Linked DNA regions of Homo sapiens: region 2 is linked to region 1. The links are contacts of gene promoters, found by promoter capture Hi-C in blood cells and fetal thymus (Javierre and others, 2016). All regions are on one chromosome and are shown on one strand. The core of a region is centred on a gene start or on the middle of the fragment in contact, and the rest is flanking DNA. Distances in the headings are between cores, read along the strand shown. Region 1 holds the start of CMAS (cytidine monophosphate N-acetylneuraminic acid synthetase). Region 2 overlaps RECQL (RecQ like helicase).

Region 1 (7,578 bases), core at 2,275-4,774:
CCACTGTTTATTTCCCTTTGGATAGCTAATAGATATTTCACACATGGCATTTATAAAACAGAATTCATAATTTTGTCTCCAAACCTTAGTCCTTCTTATCCTTTCCATCTCGGTTAATAGCAACTCCCTCCTACTAATGGTCAGGCCAAAGATCCTGGAATCACACCAATTTTCCTGTTTCTCTCATGCATTTCACCTAGTCTGTCAGAAAATCCTATTAGCTATACTTTTAAGATATATCCGGAAAATTTGAGCACTTTTCATCACCTCAGTGTATTTTCAGTGCCCAGAAAAGTGCCTGACACAGTTGTCATGCAATAACGATTTGTTGAAAGAATGGCGTGAATCAAGTTATATCCCTTCTATCTGTAACTTCCTTAACAAAGCTGAACACATAAGGTCTTTATGTGCTGTAATCTGGCCCACGCGTTCCTCTCTATTTTCATCTTTCGCCACTAACCAACCAGTATATTCTGCTTCAGTCATAGTGACTCACTTCAAGTTTCCTAAATCATCATGTAGTCTCATTCCTCTGCACCTTGCACAATGCCATTCCCTCAGCTGAGGTCTTTTTTGTACTTTAACAATCTTTCAAGAGTCATCTCAGCAAAGAAAAGTTTTACTCTAGCCTAAATACCTCCCTCTGTGCTTGCCTACCTCATGTACACTTTTTCACAGCACAAATCACACTCTACTGGGGTGTGCCTGTCTCCCTGTCATAATGCTAAGTTCGCTGCCTTTCACCTCTTGGTTTGGTATTTTTAACGTGTAGCACAGAGCCTGGCTTTTGGAATGCAGTGAATGTGAACAAATGAGTGAGTCAAAGGACTCCTCTGTATACAAAGTTTGTTTACATACAAAATCATAAAACAAGAGATAATATAAGGATATATTCTTTCACAATAAATACGAATGAATTATTCTTCAGCAGCAACACTTCATACTGATCTTTAAAGGAAAGATGACCGAATATTTGCTTTGAGAGTAGTTTATTTTGTTCCTCAAAACTAATCCAAAGAAAAAGACAGGATAACCCATCCTCTTCCTCTTCCTGGAACAATCATTCTCTCTTTGGACTAAGTAAAAATATTGTAAAAGAGTAAACTCTAATTTCATTTTTTAAAATTCATCAAATTTCTGTGTGCCATATGCTGAACTAGATGCATCACCTTCCCCTTCTACTACCACCACCTCTCTCTCTTCCTTTGTCTCCGTCTCTCAAGATTGGGAGTAGCTAAGTGTCAGGTCTAATCAAAATTGTGCTGTAACCATACAAAGGATATAAAATGCTTTATTATCATAAGTTTGCAACTATATTTTAAAAAGCATGCGTGGGCAGAGACTGAAAAAGTAATATGAGAGGCAGTTCACCAATGTTTACTGAGCAGTACTGTGACCCATGCATTGTTCTGGATGAGAAGATTACAAAGAAGGAACAGTCCCTCTCCTGGAAGAGTTCAAAGTCTCTTGGTATTTATGTAAATCGCTATAATCTCATTTGATAAGTAACAGTGGTGCCACTTGCTCTGTTCCCAGCTTAGAGGACACCAATATGCCCCAGGAGTCAAAACTACTCAGGTGTCTGTGGTCCACTAGGATTTATGGGCCTGTAGGGAATTACTGTGGAGAAGGGCAACTAAATCATTAATAGGAATCAAGATTGTTATTGGGGTGTAGTAGGGGTCCTCACATGACTACCAAAAGCTCAGTGCTGGTGTCTCTGAGGCACAGCAACTGCAAAGGCCCTACTCAAAGAGCCAGTGTATGGGGGCAAGTTGTCCCCTTGCCCTTCAGTGCTGGAATGGCTCATAGAGCCTGCCCCTTTCCCAAGCATGGCATTGATGTCTGCTCACAGCCTCCCTTATCTGTGTCTGCACGAAGCACCTTCTTCCAGCACCAGTCCCAGGAAGGGCTGGGCCCTCAGTTAATTCACAGACTAAGAGATGTAAAGTATCCAGTACCTCTCATAGGACCCAAAACATCAAAGACTTCTTCTCTCCCCTCAAAAATGGCCAAGACCTGAGAAGTACAAAATCCTTTTGCCCTCTGGGAGAAGGCAAGCCGACACACTACAATCCATTCTTTCTGTTTGTATCAGCCTCCATCTCAGAAATGTAAAAGACTCTACTTCCAAATATAGGCTTGCAAACATGCTGAAAGACAAAATGCATGCTAGGTCAGAGATGCCTGCTTTAAAGTCTCTTTTTTTTTTTTTCCTAAGAGAGGTGTGTGTGGGTGTATGTCTTTGAGCCTCTTGGCTGGATCAGGGTTTAAATGCTCAGGCGTGGCGGCTCATGCCTATAATCCCAGCACTTTGAGAGGCTGAGGCGGGCAGATCACTTGAGGTCAGGAGTTCAAGACCAGCCTGGCCAACCTGGTGAAACCCCCAACTCAACTAAAAATACAAAAATTATCTGGGTGTGGTGGTGCCCCTCTGTAATCCCAGCTACTCAGGACGCTTGAGAATGGGTGGCAGAGGGTTGCAGCGAGCCGAGATTGTGCCACTGCACTCCAGCCTTCTGGGGGACACAGTGAGAATCTGTCTCAAAAAAAAAAAAGAGTTTAAATGATGCCTCCAGAATTCTTTCTCTTTAATCCCTACATGTCATTGTTCTGCTTCCTCAGGGAGAACATCAGTCTTCCAGCCCATTTCAGAACAGCAAAGCCCCCCTGCCGCCCTACCCTACCCTTGCCCTGAGGCTTCAGGTTAACAAGGTCCTTAGCACCCAGTCAGCACGAGAAAGATCCTTTCTTTCCAAGACTCTCTGGAAAGGACTCCAGTGGGCTCTGCTTGGTCATATGCCTGTCCCTAGACCACAGGTGTGTTAAGGAAAATGGGGTGCGTAGATGGACCAGCTTGGGTCACACACAGTGCAGAGAATGTGAGGGAAACCCTCACCGGATGAGAGAGGGATCAATTCCTAAAAGGAAAAGATTTTTAGCAGACAACAAAACAAAACCAAAAAACCAAGTGTCGGCCACACTAGAGGTGACCAGTAAAGCTGACTTCCAAATTTCTGCTGCTAGGGAATGCTGATGTCGATCAAAGTGCGGAGAGCATATGAAAAATGGAGTTTTTAAAACGTTGAGTTTAAGGCGCCTGTAGGATATTTGAATGAGCTGGTCAGTAATTTCTTGGAAAAAATGACCCAGGGGCATTAAAAAAAGGTGTATGTTTAAAATGTACATTTTAAAATATAAAATGGATTCGTGTCAGGGTGCATCAAGGTATGCAACGGGAAACCCACCACAATTCTAAAGTGGGGAAGTTCTTCAGCAATTATAAATACTTTTTTTCTTTTTTAATTTTAGAAATTTACAGACACTTGCAAGCACCCCAAAAGCCGCACTTCCTCCAAATATCTCTGGACTCCCACTGCTTGACTTAGTTTTGGGGTCACCTCATCAGAGCCTACTTGGCCTACTGGCCCCAGACGAGGCGGCCGCGGACTACAATTCCCAGCGAGCACCGCGAGGGGCGGGGGAGGGGGCGGGGCGAGGGACGGCCGCGCGCGCCAGCTGCCAGGCGGGGATCGGGCGGCGCCGAGCTGAGGTGGTGAGGGACTAGCTCCCGGATGTGGAGAAGCTGGGGAGAAGGCGTGGGAGGAAGATGGACTCGGTGGAGAAGGGGGCCGCCACCTCCGTCTCCAACCCGCGGGGGCGACCGTCCCGGGGCCGGCCGCCGAAGCTGCAGCGCAACTCTCGCGGCGGCCAGGGCCGAGGTGTGGAGAAGCCCCCGCACCTGGCAGCCCTAATTCTGGCCCGGGGAGGCAGCAAAGGCATCCCCCTGAAGAACATTAAGCACCTGGCGGGGGTCCCGCTCATTGGCTGGGTCCTGCGTGCGGCCCTGGATTCAGGGGCCTTCCAGAGGTGCGCATGTGCGAGAGTGGGCGGCGCGGCCTGGGCGGGGGTCGGGAGAGGGAGTCGGGCTGCTGGAGGGGCTGGGGCCTCCGGGGCCACCGCTCTTGGAAGGGGGCCATCTCTCATGCCAGGGATGTGCAAGATCCGGGGTGCCTGGGGCCGGGCTGAGAGCCCAGGAGGAAGGGCTCCAGCTCCTTCCTTGTTCCGTAGCTGCCAATGGTCATAACCTGGGACAGTTCCTGTCTCCGCCCTTGAGAATCATCCGTAAAAGGGGAGATTACACCTCCCCAACCGTCCCCTCCTCCCGGGTTGACCTTACGGGGAAAAGTAAAGGAGGCCACCCCGGTGCAACATCTGTGATAATATGTGAACTTCTTTGGATGGGGGCCATCGAAGCTCCCCTGTTGCTCAGCCTCTGATAACTGCTTGGTGCTGCTCGATTAGGGAGGCATCAGGTTCATGAATGGAGTTGAGTGTCGGGGTGTCAGAGCTGAATTTCAAGCTCAGCTTGGAGATCTTTTCCTAACCTTTGAAAAATACTCCAGCTATCTTCCTGTGAGTCAGCACAATCTAGAAAACTCCCTACATTTATAAATACGTGAGACTCAGTGGGAAGGTGTACAACTGACTGTTTTATGATATATTAATACTTACAAATCATTTAATCATACCTTTGGAACCTCGCCTGCCCTATGGACAGTTTTAATTATGCGTAATTTAGATACATTGCCAAATTGGTCAGGAGTTACAAGCTGATGTTATTCATAAAAGAAGGGAGATCGAATTCTGTGCCAAGAATGAATTTACACATATAGCTTCAACCTAACTACATTTGAATGTGTTGTTATTGTGGAAATTAATTTATGTTAACCTTTTGATGTTTCGATTTTTAAAGAGATGACTGTTTTTGAAGTCATCTCTTTTTCTTTTTGAACCTATATTTGCTTACCCATATTAATATATGGGTAAATGATTTTCATTTAACCAGTCTTGTTCAAAAACGGGAGATGCCAAAAAAGTATAAATATACTAATTTTCTTAATGTTTCAACCCAAAAGAAGTCCTGGATGGACCAAGGCAAATAGGAGCCACCACTCAGAAGATAACACTAGTGCAATAGGAAGTGTGCGAAGGAGAGATAGGGAAGGACCTGGGGATTTTGTTCAATTCAGTAGCTATTTACTGAGCCCTAATTTCTGCTATACATGTCCAAGGGAATACCAAGATGATTGGGACACAGTTTTTGTCCTTGTGAAGCTCACAAACTTTGGGATATTTTTACATTCTTAGAAAGGGTACAAACTAAAAAGGACTGAGAGAAGTAGGTGCATCCAGACTGCAGTAATATAGTGAAATATCATTTTTGTGAAATGAACTAGAGATCAAAATCATATTCACAGTAAATGGAGAACAAAACTGTTAATACCATTTACAACTCTTAGGTTGTATATATCAGGAAACCCTGTTCAAACTGGCATAACAAAAGAGGGAAAGGCTTATTAAGGTACAGTCAGATTCAAGGACAAAAAAATGATTCATTCATTCAGCATACTTACTGCCTACCTACTATGTAACAGGCACTGTTGTATGTACCGAACCACGTGTAGTAGCAGTAGAGACAGCCCTTAGTCTCATAGAGCTTACGTTATAATAAGGAAAGACATGCAGTATACAAGAACATTAATGTGTGTTGTATCACGTTATGATAAATATTTTTAAGAAAAAGTAAAGCAGGATAAGAGGATGGTGCACTTTGTTGCCAGAATCCTCAATTTCTTAGCTCTGGATAGACCCTTTATGGTTTCAAGGTGGTTGTACTGAGAACTGCAGAACTCTCAGGGTACCTAATGACTTGCTCCAAACCTCTGCTCCAAGAGACTTGACCAAGCCCTAGCATGGCTTCTAGCAGCTTAAGGCCATGTCCCTAGGATGATCTCAGGTTCCCTTAAAATGGCTTCCTGAAGAGGCTCAAAGCTGCCAGAATTTCCTGATTGTTCCAGGAAAAACCTGGTGAGAGGCCCCTGAACCCTCTTTTAGAGCAATTAGTTTAGAAAGCTTGCAATTATAAAAACTTTCCCTGCCTTTTGAGATGTAAATCTACCACACAAAACTGTTTCCTCAAGGACCTGGGAGCCCCAGAACCCTGTCTCAGTGAAATGCGAACATTCTAGGAAATAACTCTTACTCTCCTTCCTAGTCCCTCTGGGAAGATAAAGGGCAAAGTTCAGTGGACACCTTGCTTCAACTTGCTCAGTTGCCTTGTCTCATAAGGATAGAAGATTGTTTCTCTTCCAGATAAGCGCTAGTTAACAAATCCATATGGCCTAGTCACACGGACTAAGCCCTGTTAGCACCCCTCAGTGCCTTTCCCTTAGCACAACTCAGCCTTTAAAGTCTCCAGCCTTTCGTTTTCTGGGGCTGTGAATGCAATTCACATTGGACTCTTTTCCCTGTTGCAGTAGTAACAGAATACAATCTGTCCTTAACACTTTAGTCACCGATTTTGTGTGTCTTTGATAGCAGTCCTCATATTCTTACAGGTTTAAATGTAAGTCAGAAGGAGTGCTCTCCTCGAAGCTCGAAGTTTCATTGTGCCTCATTGGGTACCCTGCTCATTCTTCAACCAGTCACTATGGCAAGAGGAACATAGTGCTTGTATTGCTACAGTATAGCTTCATCTTCCACTCTTGAAACCAGCGATGGAGCCCCCGCTGAAAAACATGACAGGTTCATCAAGAGGAAAATTGGAGTACAATTACCAAAAGTGAGGGGGAATAGATTCTGTTGGTCAGAACCCAACAACCAACCATTACAGCAGGCATTGGGGATTTTGCTATGAAATGATTGGAAAATATGTATATATATTGACCAATGATTTTCCCATTTCCACATTTTAGCATTTGTACAAAACTTCTTTTAAAAAAAGACTCTAGTATCAACCTTTTCTGTACCAAGTAGTTTTATTTAATACTTCTAGACTAGAGTGTAAACTCATTGACCACAGGGATAATGTTTTATACTTCTTCAAGCCACCTGTGGTATCTGTCACTATATCAATGGTGGCGATTAGAAGAAATAAAATTGGCTGGGCTCACACTTGTAATCCCAGCACTTTAGGAGGCCGAAGGCAGGCGGAGGCCAGGAGTTGAAGACCAGCCTGGCCAACATGGCGAAACCCCATCTCTACCAAAAATACAAAAATTAGCCAGTTGTGGTGGTGCATGCCTGTAATCCCAGCTACTCAGGAGGCTGAGGCAGGGGAATCACCTGAACCCGGGAGGTGGAGGTTGCAGTGAGCCGAGACTGGACCACTGCACTCTAGCCTGGGCAACAGAGCAAGACTCTGTCTCAAAAAAAAAAAAAAAATTTTTTTTCTAAACTAGCAAAATGAATGTATTTCTAACTTAACAGTATCATGTAACAATGTGAATTTACTCTGTTCAAGTTTTGTGGCTATGTGCTATTTGTCATCCTTTCCAGGCATCTGGAGAGATTAGGTCAAAAGGTAATAGAAGGGACCAGCACTTCTTCCTCCATGAAGCCTTTACTGATCCCCTCAGTGAAAAGTAATTGTGCCTTTGTTTTCCCATACATAGCTACGTCGTTTGTACCTTCATTTAGTGCATGCCCTATGCAGGGAGATAAGATCACAGACTCTGAAATCAAACTGTGGATTTGAATTCCAGCATCACCATGTGTTAACTGTGCAAACTTGGG
Region 2 (7,578 bases), core at 2,956-5,455, 560 kb before region 1:
TGATGACTAAAGATGACAACTTTGAAACAGATGCAAATTCTTCAACAAATGTGAAGGAATACCTAGATGTCATAAATGCCACAAAGATGTCCACTATTGGCTAGTAAACATATGTGTCCATATTTGTCCATAATTGACAAGGGCAATTAAACTACAGACTACAGTGGGGAATGAAACTAAACATTCTGCCTCTCAGTCCTCCTCATAATGAGGCAAGATAAAATAAGTAATACAGGTTGATCATCCCAAATCCAAAAAAATCCAAAATTTAAAACCCTTTTGGTTCCGAACATTCTGGATAACGGATATTCAATGTGTAACTACTTGAGGATGATTTTAATAGAAGCAGAGATTTCCATCATGCCAAGCTGAGTAAGGACACGGTCTATGACATCAAAAAGTTTTCTAGATAAAACATACATACCAGGTCTGAAATCATGTCCCCACTGACTACAGCAGTGAACTTCATCCACAGCAATTCGAGTAAATCTCCTTGCTTCATAGGCTTTCTCTAGTCTTGACATAAACATTTTGCTTTTTGCAATTTTCTCTGGAGTCACATAAATCAGCTTTAACTCGGAGTTTTTATTTACCATTTCAGCATGAACCCATTTAACATGCTCCTATTAAAAGAAAAAAATAGACACAATGATAGTAAAACTAAGCTAGCAGACTGAAATACTAGGTGGTAAATGAAAACGTTCATTTCTCCAAAGCAATAATAGCCTTTGGCTCTTCTAGGAGCAGATGTTTAGTTCATTAAAACTGAAACCATGTCTCAGTACGAAACATCATGGCAGCTGTGTAAATAGCATTCTAGTTATTTACTAACGTCTACATTGTTGATGACTAAAAAAAACTCACTTGACAAAAAAGAACACAAACAGATACTCCAATGAAGAGCATTTATTCTATGAAGGCATAATCCTAAATTGTTCATAATATATTCTAAAATGTGAGCTAGATGCAATTGTTATGGTTATAAAGGTGGGTTTTATTAATTTTAACATTATATTTATAATCCCTTTATGTATGTGAACAAAATTTATTATTTATTAACTTCTCAAATGATACCATCAAATCTTTTAATCTCTTTATTTAAATATAAAGACCATGGGGTTTCACAAAGTATCACTCATTAAATTAAGATAATAATAATAAATCTTAAAAGGTAACAGTTATTAGATTCTTAGTACTCATACAATTCTATACAATACTTAGCATATTAGATGTCATTTTTTTTCCTTCTAATCTAAAGAGGACCAAAAAAGTATAAAAACATGCCAGTGAATGAGATAGAAAGAGACAGTCAAACTACTTTCATCATCCCAGCAAAGAAGCAGTTTGTTAACTCCTAGATATATTCTAGGATACAGATGTTCTTTTTTTCTCTCTCCAACTTTCAAGAGTAGGGATATATCATGAACTTGTAATTATCTGCAACTTTCTAAATTACTTTCTATTACTATTATGTTCTTTTTCAATTTTAAGAAAGTACATTATTAGAAGGCAGTTTTCTCCACAGATTGATTTTGTTGGAGGAAGGAGCAGTTATAATAGAATGACATGGAGTTTAAATAAAACAAAAATATATGGGTAAACTAAAGGAACCAGGGCTTCTTAGAGGTATGGCTGACTCTAGGTCTGGGCAGGAAATGCATAAAATGAACATGGATTATCTTACTGCAAAAGAAAGCAAGGAACAGAAGCAATGGGGTTAAGAGAAAGGATTCAGGAACCAACTTAAAGAGGCTCTCACTGCCCAAGGACAGGACTATTTCAGCATTACATATATACATATTGATATATATATATATATGATTCCAAAGGTGAATCATATTATACGTCAAAGCTTGTAAGTTTATAGTGATACTTGGGGAAAGAAAACCTTAAAAATCTTGTTGACCACCTTTGGAGAATGCTAGAAAACCAACTCTTTCTGAAAACTCATAAAGAAAGGGAAAAAAAAATCAAGCATTTTCATCATGCAGAGTTAATGAGGAAAAAGTTTATTTTTGTAGAAAAAGTATAACTAATACATGAAGAAAGAGTGACAGAATTAGATATCACCATTTTGCACCTCCCTAATGAAATCATGGCTCTCACGGTGCCACTCAGTGGCTGCTAAAACCATTAGATGAAAAACTGATAACCAGAGATCAGGCAGACATCACTTGAACCCACTGACGCTTAGCATCACAAAAAGATAACCAGGTACTATGTACCACTTGAGTGATACCACAGTAAGTATACTCTTGCAAAAAAAAAAAAAAAAGTTAAAGAAAAATTCCAAATACAATCAGGCTTTTAGATCTAACTAAAAGGATCCAGTTACCTATGTAACAAACCTGCACATCCTGCATATGGACCCCAGAACTGAAAAAAAAAAAAAGAAAAAGAAAGAAAAGAAAAGAAAGAGAGAAAGAAAGAACACCACAAGGACGCAATCAGGAAAATGTAGAAAGATACAGGACAGTTAACCCAGTTTCTTCAACAAAGAATTTGCATGGGAAATATAAAAGATATAAAGAGAACCTATGGGTATATCAACCAAATACAATACAATGCATGAATATTATCTGGGCTATATTTTTTTTTAAAAAAAACATAAAAATGAGATAGAAATCTGAATTTTTTTTATAATTCTAAAGAATTGATTAAACTTCTTAGATGTGATGATGGCACAGCACTTTTCTTTAAAGTTAGAGATACGTACTGAAGAATTTACAATTAAAATATGATGTCTGGAATTTGTTCTGAATAAATAAACTAAGAGGAAAGGGGTAGGGAAAACTGGAGGTATACAGATTAAAAAAAAAGATTAGCCGTATGTTGATAACTGTTGAAGGGGGAAATGGCTACATGGCAGTTTTTATGCTATTCTCTCTCCTTTTGAAGATTTCAGTAATATGCTTTTTAAAAAAGAATAGCTGGGAAATGCTTTATTCTACAGATGAGGGTAAGACAGTCCATTCCTAAATACAAGAAATTCCACAGGTATAGGGTAACTTCTTAATAATTCATATTTCATATTTAATTACACTGCATAATTAGCAATTCTCCCTTACTATTTTAGAATGGATAATACAAAACAGGTCAGCAAATGTTTCCTGTAAAGTATCAGACAAAAATATTAGGTTTTATGGGCTATAAGGTCTCTATCACAACTACTCCACTGTGCCATTATACTGTAAAAGCAGCCATAGACAACATGTCAACAAATGAGCATGGTGGTGTTTCAATAAAACTTTATTTATGGATACTGAAACTTGAATTGCAAATAATTTTCCCATTTCACAAAATATTCTTTTTAGATTTTTTTTAGCCATTTAAAAATATAAAAACCATTCTTAACTCATGGGACATACAAAAATAGACAGTGGGCCAGAACTGGCCAAGAGCAGTAGTTTGTAACTCCTGATATAAATAGTTAACAGTTTATAATTTTATAAGCAACTCAACTGCAGGTAAAGCTCCTATTTCAGTGAATAGTTTACATTAAAAAAAAAAAAGCCACTGAAACATACCTTAGAACTAGAAGCATTTAACATGGTTGCTGAAATTCCTAATTGTTTTAAAACCATTAATTGGTCTTCCATAAGAGAGATCAATGGGCAAATGACGAGTGTAAAACCTAAAAGAGAAAAAAAAAAAAATCTACCTTAAACTTTACACCACCCTCAGAATCAGATGCAAACCATTCACGTTTTTTTTTTTTTTTTTTTTTTTTTTTTTTAGAGATGGAGTCTCACTCTCTTGCCCAGGCTAGAGTGCAGTGGTGCGATGTTGGCTCATTGCAACCTCTGCCTCCCGGGTTCAAGCAATTCTCCTGCCTCAGCCTCCCGAGTAGCTGGGACTACAGGCACCTGCTGCCATGCCTGGCTAATTTCTTTTGTATTTTAGTAGGGACAGGGTTTCACTGTGTTGCCCAGGCTGGTCTCAAACTCCTGAGCTCAGGCAATCTGCCCACCTTGGCCTCCCAAAGTGCTAGGATTACAGGCATGAGCTACCACGCCCGGCCCATTCACCTTCTTAACTTGTGGGCACTGGCCATCAATTCAGATTAATTTTTAATGCAGCTTTAGTAAAGCTTACTTCTTACTCTCATTAATTAGATATGAATAAATGACCAAACAAGGTAAGTAGAAGCCAAATAAACATACAACTAAACAGAACTCTATCCTTATAAAAATAAAGACAGATTTTTATCATTTCAAATGTTTAATTTGCTATCGTTTTAAATAATCACTATTGGTAATTTCAGTAAGACAACATATATCAGTTCAAACACTAAACAGTTTCATCAGGGAAAAATCACTATAAAGCTTTCCAAAAAAACCAGATTTTTAATTATACAGTAGTGTGTATAATTAAACATGATAGTTGCATAAGCATTCTTTTACTTTTTGTACGAGATTCATTTATGCTGAGTAGAAATCAGTGAACAGTTTACTGTCTGAATGAAGTTATAGTAATATGCCCCCTTCCTTATAATTGAAACTGTTTAAAGTACAAAAGCTATTCTACAGTTAAAATTATATATGGCTTTACGTTTCTGTAGTTTGTTTCTTAAAACAACCTTTGGCAAAGAGCAGACATGTTTAAAAAACATAATCAAATTAAGACCTTATTAGGGATTTTTCCCAGTCAATTATTCTCTCTCCTATTATTTTCACTTTTCCTTACTAGCACCTACTCATTACATTTAAACATGGTCAAGTCCCTCTCATCTTGGAAAACACCCACTATGGTCTGAAAGTTGGTATCCCCACAGAAGTGATTAAGTAATGAGGGCTCTGCTTTCATAAGTGGGATTAATGCCATTTTACAAAAAGTTGAAGGGAGTGCCCTTTCTTTGCCGCCATGTGAGGGTGTAGCAAGAAGGTGCCATCTATGAGAAACACCCCCTCTCTAGACACCGAAATCTATTAGCATCTTGATCTTGGACTTCCCAGCCTCCAGAACTGCAAGCAGTAAACTTCTGTTGTTTGTTAATTAACTGATATAAAGTATTCTGTTACAGCAGCTGGAATAGACTAAGATAACATCTCATTTATGGCCCACTCTCTTCTTCCCTTCATAGTCATTCTTTTCCAAAGAGAATCCCATACTCACCAGTTCCACTTCCTCAATTCCTACCTGCTTCAAACCATTGCTATTTGGTCTCCACCCAACCATTTCAATAAAATTGCTCTAGCTAAGGTCATAGATGAGTCCTTTGTCATTAAACTCATTGAAACTTACATCCTTACGTATTTGACATTTTGCTAACAGACATCACTATTAACTACTCCCTCATTCAAACACACCCTTCCCTAGCCTTCTAATAACATCATACAATCCTGGTTATCCTATATGTTGCTACTCTTTCTCAGCCTTGTCTGCAAGCCCTTTTTCTCTGTTTATCCCTAAACTCTTGGTGTTCTGGTTTCTGTTCTAGGCCTTCTTTTCTTCTTATGCTGCTCTGAAATTCATTCCAATGGCTTCAGTGGCCATCTCCACACTAACAACCCCCAACTCAGACCTCTAACACCAGGCTTTAGACACAAACATCCTCCTACTCATAGGACAATTCCACCTGGATGTCTTAAAGGCATCGTAAATTCAACATGTCCCAAATAAATTCATCATCTTTCCCCTCTCCATTCCCAAGAGTTCTTTCGCCAATGTACCCCATTTCAGTGAAGAACCTCACCACTTGTCCAAGCCTAAAATTTGAGTATCATTCTTGACTCTTCTTTCTCCTTTCCCCCCAAGCAATAAATACCAAGTCCCATTGAATCTATCTTCCAGATGTATCTGGAATTCATCTAACTGCTAGAATTATCCTTCTAAACCATGAAATAATGAGTCTCTTACCTGTGTAAAACTCTTCAATGGCTTCTTGCTAAAATAAGGAAAAGTTTTAAAAATAAGACTCTTTCCACATGTCTTACCACTGACTGCCACATAGAAATTCCTCCAGGTTACTGAATACATCATAATGTGAATGTTCTCTCTTGCTTTTGGATCTCAAGTATTGCTTTTCTGAATGAACACTCTTCCTTCCCTGTCCCTTCTGCCTACTCACCCTTTAAACTTTAGCTTAAATGCCACTTCCTCAGAACAGCTTTCCCTGACAGCCCCTAGACCAGATCTTTGTACAGACTTAATTCCCTATTAAAACCTTTATCCCAAAATTCTTATTGCAATTGCTTGCAATTACCTGTATTCTCTAAACCAGGGATCAACAAAGTAAGGGCTGGTTGCCTATTTTTGTAAGTTATTTTAATGGAACACAGCTACACCCATGTGTTTACACATTATCTGTGGCTGCTTTTGTGCTACAATGGCAGGGTTGAAGAGCTGCCAAGGAGACCATATGGACCACAAGCCTATATTATTTACTATCTACCCTTTCAAGAAAAAGCTTGCTGATCCCTTGCTACTACCCAATCAGTAATATCAGTAGCACTAGCGAACTTGTTAGAAATGCAGGATCTTTGGTCTCACATAAAATCAGAATCTGCACATAATCAAATTCTCAGGTGATTCTTATGTACACTAAAGTCTGAGAAAGTGCTACTCTACACTATGAGTTCTGTGAAAACTAAGACCACGCCCATTTTGCTCACTACTGTGTCTCCCAGTGCCTAGCACCATGGCAGACACTCAGTAAAGATCTGGGACTAGAATTCAGGTCTACTGATTCTTCTTCCAGAGCTGCTTCTCCTACAACATTTTTGGGTTTTTTTGCCCCTTGTATCTTCTGTTCAAGTGTTCTATAGCACTGTAGGGTGAATATGGTTAACAATAATTTAGATAGGGTTTCGAAAAGCTAGAAGAGAGGATTTTGAATGTTCAGTACAATATGTTTTTAAATTTATGTTTCAGGAACCAGATAAAAGGATTAATCTCAGAAGTTTTTAAAACTCCTCCTTTAGGGAGAGAGGAGGGCAAGGGCTGAAAAACTACCTAGCAGGTACTATGTTTACTACTTGGACGATGGATCATTAGAAGTCCAAATCTCAGCATCACACAATATACCCATGTAACAAACCTGCACATATACCCCTGAATCTAAAATAAAAAATAAATAAAATTCCTCCTTTAAGTGAAACTTTAAATTTCTATTAATATAGAAGAAATCAAACAAAAATGCACTTGATTTTTATATATGTATGATTATAAATTATTTTTTAAAAGAATTAAAAAGGTATGATGACAAAGCACTTCTTCAACTCAAAATTAATTTTTTTAGTACATACCATCTGAACATAATGCTGGTAACTGGTAACATAAGCTCTTTCCACCTCCTGTAGGCATAACAAGAAATACCTCCTTTCCAGCCATTGTTACGTTAATAGTTTCAAGCTGAAGTGGTCTGAACTTTTCCAGTTTAAAGACATTTTGCAGAATATCTTTAACTTTACCAGACCATGGAAAATCTAGGAAAAGAAAGTTAAGAATCAGACAAACATGTAAGACTATTATAGAAGTTTGATAAGAATGAGACAAACATATATAAGACTTCTAATACTTATAGACCATTAAACTTTTATGATAATAGTTTTGAGATTAACTCACTAGCTAAGCAAA

What was found. Contacts are between HindIII fragments. The CHiCAGO score rates a contact against its expected background, and 5 or more counts as called.
Region 2: a fragment that was not itself captured here is called in contact with the fragment with the promoter of CMAS in region 1 in 4 of 17 cell types (non-activated CD4 T cells, total CD4 T cells, megakaryocytes and 1 more); the score reaches 8.8 in non-activated CD4 T cells.

Annotation. Positions count from the first base shown.
Region 1 is chr12:22,042,694-22,050,271 of GRCh38, forward strand. It overlaps CMAS (cytidine monophosphate N-acetylneuraminic acid synthetase), which reads left to right and starts at 3,525. Exons shown (of 8, transcript NM_018686.6): 1 at 3,525-3,870. The coding sequence starts at 3,611. RefSeq lists enhancers at 3,342-3,636, 3,952-4,657, 5,618-6,223 and silencers at 3,409-3,778, 3,422-3,649. The HindIII fragment of the contact is 10,395 bases long and covers 1-5,914 here.
Region 2 is chr12:21,482,952-21,490,529 of GRCh38, forward strand. It overlaps RECQL (RecQ like helicase), which reads right to left. Exons shown (of 15, transcript NM_002907.4): 4 at 7,248-7,427; 5 at 3,528-3,634; 6 at 425-623. Among named protein-coding and RNA genes, the nearest start is that of RECQL, 15 kb to the right of the region's middle. The HindIII fragment of the contact is 235 bases long and covers 4,089-4,323 here.